2 separate regions of the Homo sapiens genome follow, and region 1 is linked to region 2. The links are contacts of gene promoters, found by promoter capture Hi-C in blood cells and fetal thymus (Javierre and others, 2016). All regions are on one chromosome and are shown on one strand. Each heading gives the region's core, a stretch centred on a gene start or on the middle of the fragment in contact. The rest is flanking DNA. Distances are from core to core; before and after follow the strand shown. Region 1 overlaps AKIRIN2 (akirin 2). Region 2 holds the start of MAP3K7 (mitogen-activated protein kinase kinase kinase 7).

Region 1 (2,859 bases), core at 286-2,785, 2.9 Mb before region 2:
ACAGCAAAACTCAGCTGAAGATTCAAAGTGACTGTTACCTTTTGGGCCTAAGTTCTCAAGTGCTTCTACAATTTTAATGCACACACAGATTACCTCCAGATCTTGTTAAAATGTAGACTCTGAAGGGTGGAGCTTAAGATTCTACGTTCCTTATGAGGTGATGCTGCCGGTCAGGACTGGAATTCACTAGTTCCCTCCTAGTTTACTTTAAATCATTTACACATCTGGAACTATGCGTATTTAAAGTTTCTAGCCCCTGCTTAAAATAACAACTCTCTTGGCCACGGGCGGTGGCTCACGCCTGTAATCCTAGCACTTTGGGAGGCCAAGGCAGTTGGTCACTTGAGGTCAGGAGTTGGAGGCCAGCCTGGCCAACATGGTGAAACCCTGTCTCTACTAAAACTACAAAAAAATTAGCTGAGCATGGTGGCAGGAGCCTGTAATCCCAGCTACTTGGGAGGCTGAGAATCGCTTGAGCTTGGGAGGCAGAGGTTTCAGTGAGCTGAGATGACGCCATTGAACTCCAGCCTGGGCAACAACAGCGAAACTCCATCTCAAAAAAAAAAAAACCAAAAAAACAAAAAAAACCAACTCTTAATTGAACATTTTTTAAAAAGTGGTTTACTATTGGACATACTAAGGAGTGGAGAGGAAGGAAAGCAAGACATTAGCAGCAAGGTTATTACAAGTAGGAAAATACCTAAGCTAACTTAAAATCATTTTGCCACCCTCACCTGAATGGTTTTTGCAGTTGTCAGTTCATTGCTTCTCAGCCTTTTGGCTAAGATCAAGTGTAATTCTAAGTCAGACATACCCCTCCTGTAGGAGGAAAATATTCTGCAAATTAATTTAACTTGATTGGACCTACTTAGGAAAACTCATTACATGACATTAACCTATATACAATGATTATTTCATCTCTCCTTATACACTTTAAAAAAGGAAATTCATATTCGTCATTATGTGACTGATGATGAAGCAATTCATTTACTTTACCAACATGACCACTTATTAAAAAGAGGAATTAAGACCACCTCTCAGGCCAGGCACGGTCACTCATGCCAGTAATCCCAGCACTTTGGGAGGCCAAGGTGGGCAGATGGCTTGAGGTCAGGAGTTCAAGACCAGTCTGGCCAACATGGTAAAACCCTATCTCTACTAAAAATACAAAAGTTAAACGGGCATAATGGCGGGCACCTGTAATCCCAGCTACTAGGGAAGCTGAAGCAGGAGAATCACTTGAATCCAGGAGATGGAGGTTGCAGCGAGCGGAGACTGCACCACTGCACTCCAGCCTGGGCAACAGAGTGAGACGGTTTCAACAACAACAACAAAAAGACCACCTCTCACACCATAAGACACTCATTAGAAGTCTACATACATCTCTTATTTATCCCATGTATTTTGTAAATTAGTTGTGAACATTTAAAAGTCAATCGATTTCACAAAAGTTCTGACTTCTAGTGGTGGAGCGAAGGCTACCAAGATCTGACGATAAAAAGTCCAAATTAGGCTGGGCGTGGTGGCTCACACCTATAATCCCGGCACTCTGGAGGCCAAGGTGGGCAGATCACTTGAGGCTAGGAGTTGGAGACCAGCCTGGCCAACATGGTGAAACTGTCTCTACTAAAAATACAAAAATTAGCCGGGCATGGTGATACACATCTGTAATCCCAGCTACTTGGGTGGCTGAGGCAGGAGAATTGCTTGAACCCAGGAGGCAGAGGTTGCAGTGAGCCGAGATCGCACCACTGCACTCCAGCCTGGGAAACAGGGCAAAACCTCATCTTAAAAAAAAAAAAAAAAAAAAAAAAAGTCCACATTTCCCATGGCTGCAACTAAAGAGGAACTGTCTGAACCAACTGAAGATACAAATTAAAGAGACATCTGTAAATGGAAACTGAAGTCAGGAGCAGGCATGTGACTGCTTAGGGAGCTATTAAGTGACATAAGCATGGAGCTAAAGCTAGAACTAAAGAACTGCAAGGTTTAATGCCCAGGTAAAGAGAAGAACAGCTAGGGAGTAGAGGGAAATTGTAGTCAAAGGAGAAAAAGGCCATTTCAAAAAGAAAGGAGTGTGCCAGCAGGCAGAATGCTGAAAGAAAGGTCAAATAAGAGGAGGACTGATTGAGTGTCATGGAAGTCACTGATGACCTGACAGGAGCTGCTTGAGGCATGTCAGGAATTAAGAACTGAAGAAATGGAAGCAAACAGACTATTTGAAAGCTCTCTGAATTTGATTTTGAAGTGGAGGAAATCTGGAAGATAGCTGGAGGAAAATGAGTATGTTTTGTTCTTTTACTTTCTCATGGAAGGCTTGTGAATATATAAAGCCAAAAGCAAAGATCCAATTGAGAGAAGAAATGGAATAATCAAGAGGATAAAGTTACTTTGGAGAAAAGTGGAATCTTTCCCTCACTATATACAGTGCTTTAATAATTGTTTAATCCTCGATGATACTAGAACAGGACAGGCTCAAATGTCAGTAGTGCTGGTACTAAAAACAATGAAAAAACTGTGATTTGATGGCAACTCTTTTGTAGAAGGCAGGCTTAGTCACTGAAAGGCAAACTTGCTGGTGAGTAAAAGTCCCATTTGAGGTTGCCTTCTTGAGACCATTTCCATCACTTGGCCAGTAAATGCTCTTAATTCTCACAACCCTAAGAGGCATATGCTACTATCATCATGTGCACATTTCCTGAGATGAGAAAAATGAGGCTCTGCTTCAGTGTCTTCTGCAATGTCACACGGCTTGAACATGGCAGAGCCAGGTTTGACCTCAGGGCCCAAGTTCTTAACATCTACTACCCTCTCCAGTAGTACATTACTACACTTAATCAAAATTCTATTAGCATTTAA
Region 2 (2,844 bases), core at 174-2,673:
ATTTACCTGTTAATTTGAAAAACGACGCTTTAAAGTCACTTTGAAATATCTTGTTCTAAAATAAATTACTGCAGAATAAAGAAAGGATATGGGTTTTCTGATAGCGATTTCTAGTCTAATATTATATTCTGATTGTCACCGAAATCATTCGTTATCTCTTCAGAATATGCTACTTGAAACATCTTTTGATCGTAGACCAGTCTATGTTACTTATGGTGAAATTCACCTACATTAGCCCAACTGAAAGCCGAGCATTTAAACATTACGAGTATTGCTGTGCGGTATCGGAGAAATTGAGAACCATTCGGTGCTAAGGGAAACACTTTATTAGACTTGATGATCTACTAATTTAACAAGCATTTATTGAGCATCCCCTACATGCCAGGTACTGAAGTAGAAGTCGAATATAATACAATCTTTGGCCATTAAGAACATTACGTCCGGCCGGGCCCGGTGGCTCACGCCTGTAATCCCAGCACTTTGGGAGGCCGAGGCGGGTGGATCATGAGGTCAGGAGATCGAGACCATCCTGGCTAACAAGGTGAAACCCCGTCTCTACTAAAAATACAAAAAATTAGCCAGGCGCGGTGGCGGGCGCCTGTAGTCCCAGCTACTCGGGAGGCTGAGGCAGGAGAATGGCGTGAACCCGGGAAGCGGAGCTTGCAGTGAGCCGAGATTGCGCCACTGCAGTCCGCAGTCCGGCCTGGGCGACAGAGCGAGACTCCGTCTCAAAAAAAAAAAAAAAAAAAAAAGAACATTACGTCCAGCGGACTGAAACTCCAGAACGGCTACGATCTTCGCTGAAACTACTACTTACAGATACGAGAACTGGTGGACCACACTATCTCACCAGTTCATTCTCCTGTTTATCACCGGAATATCAAATCCAAAATCAAGAGTACCCAAGAGAGGAAAAAAGGCAGCTACTCCCGAGCAGTTGAGCTCAGAGAGTAACCCCCACTCCCACGTTACTGAGGGCTGTGGGGTCTCCCGGGTGGACCCCGCAGGGTCCCGCGAATTAGAGGGGCCCCGGGAGGCACCTTCAGAGCCGGCACCAGGCAGAGGCGGGGGCGGGGCAGGCCGGGACCGGCGTCTCCATGCCGGGCCTCGCTCACCTCTTCCACCTCGATCTCCTTGTAGTCGATCTCTTCAAAGTTGAGGACCTGGGAAGGGGCTTCGATCATCTCACCGGCCGAAGACGAGGAGGAGGAGGAGGCGGCAGAGGCTGTAGACATGATCCCTCGCGGCGCCCGGTGGGGCCGGGAACGGTGCCACCCGGACAATCCGGGTGAGACCCGCGCCCACCCGCCTCCGGACCGACCCTCAGCCTGGAGCCGCGCAGTCCTACTACCCGGCGATCCGTGGCGGGGGTAGAGGCAGCGGCCACAGCCGTGTCCGGCTCTGGCTCCGCTGCGTTTTCCGCCGACGGGCCCCGCCCACTACACTTCCGGTTCCGGGCTGAAATCGGAAACAGGAGGAGGGCCGTAAACTCCGGGGTAGGGGAGGGGAGAATTTTGTGACTTGGAAAGAAAAGGAGGGACAGGTTGGGGGTGGGGTGGAGTAAGCTAAGAAGCAAACTTGGACCTCTAGAACAAATTTCGCGAGACCTTTATTACAGGGCCTCAGCAACCGGATGATACCGCGAGAGAGGACGCCTGACGTAATTAAAGTGCGCGAACGGAAGTGGCGCGGAACATGACGGAAAATCAGTACGGTTGGTCCCTTAAGGACCAGCGGGAAAGATAAAAGCTGGGGTTTAGTCTGTGCTGCGTGAAATATGTCTTGGCCTCACTTCCTGTCCTCTGAGCTGCCTGCAGCCGGGCGAGGTGGTGTTGAACTGTGTTTTTTGTGACGAAGCTTACTTTTAAGTTTCATCCCTAAACTAAGTTGACCTGTTTCTTTAAGACGGCTTGCAAAATGTGTTTTCCTCAATGTGGGATATGGAAAGAAGCAGTTGCTCCTGTTATTTTGAGCTAGTACCTGACGCTATGAGAAATTCTAAAAGAGCGAATCAGATCATGCAACATGAATAACTATGGAGGCTGAGTGATCAAGAACAGAAGTTAATATTTTGGTGTTACAAACTTTCCACGGATTAGGTGAATAAGATATTTATAATTTGGTGTGTTCATCTCAAGTTATGGATTACGAGTGCGGGGCACTAGTGCTTTAGATTGGTAAATGAATCATCAACAGTCGCCTTGAAAATCGAATATTTTTGTCACCATTTTCAGGACATGAGAAAACACGCTGAGAGTTTAAAGCAATTATGGTCCTCACAAACTAGATCATTCTGTCCCCAAGATGGTCAGTATTGCTCATGTTGTACTACCAGCACAAGTTTTAGTTTTAAACTAACTGTTGAATTTTATATAGTCCGTTTGACATAAAGCCTAACTGTGGAATTATGTTAAACACATTTGGGATTGCAAATAGATCATTGGATTTGACCATCAAGAAGTTACAAACTCCTGGGAAACATTCTGTCACTTTTTATTCGTAGTTCTAGTGACACGCAGTGACAGTTTGATGAGTGGATAAAAAAATGAAAGAAACGATAATTTCTTTTCACTGTACACTCTCTCTTTGCATGCTCTTACCCAAGGTCTCTGTTTCTCATACTATTTTTATAATGATGACTCCTAATCTCCAAATACTCAAGATTTTTCCTGAATTCTGGACCTATTGGTCATCTCTACTTAGACAAACACCTAAACTTCAAGATACCACAGCAAATTCAAAAGTTGTCACCCACCACAAATATATTCCTATGTTATTTTCCTATGTCACTTAAGGATGCCATCACCCAGTTGGTTGTCCAAGTGAGAAATCAGGGCATGTGAA

Evidence for each region. Contacts are between HindIII fragments. The CHiCAGO score rates a contact against its expected background, and 5 or more counts as called.
Region 1: a fragment that was not itself captured here is called in contact with the fragment with the promoter of MAP3K7 in region 2 in 1 of 17 cell types (naive CD8 T cells); the score reaches 7.5 in naive CD8 T cells.

The regions. Positions count from the first base shown.
Region 1 is chr6:87,689,651-87,692,509 of GRCh38, forward strand. The region is part of intron 1 of AKIRIN2 (akirin 2); the gene reads right to left. Among named protein-coding and RNA genes, the nearest start is that of AKIRIN2, 11 kb to the right of the region's middle. The HindIII fragment of the contact is 9,255 bases long and covers 1-2,859 here.
Region 2 is chr6:90,585,649-90,588,492 of GRCh38, forward strand. It overlaps MAP3K7 (mitogen-activated protein kinase kinase kinase 7), which reads right to left and starts at 1,424. Exons shown (of 17, transcript NM_145331.3): 1 at 1,116-1,424. The coding sequence starts at 1,235. LOC124901363 (a long non-coding RNA gene) reads left to right here and starts at 1,146. Exons shown (of 2, transcript XR_007059680.1): 1 at 1,146-2,307. RefSeq lists silencers at 1,244-1,363, 1,360-1,556. The HindIII fragment of the contact is 2,842 bases long and covers 1-1,855 here.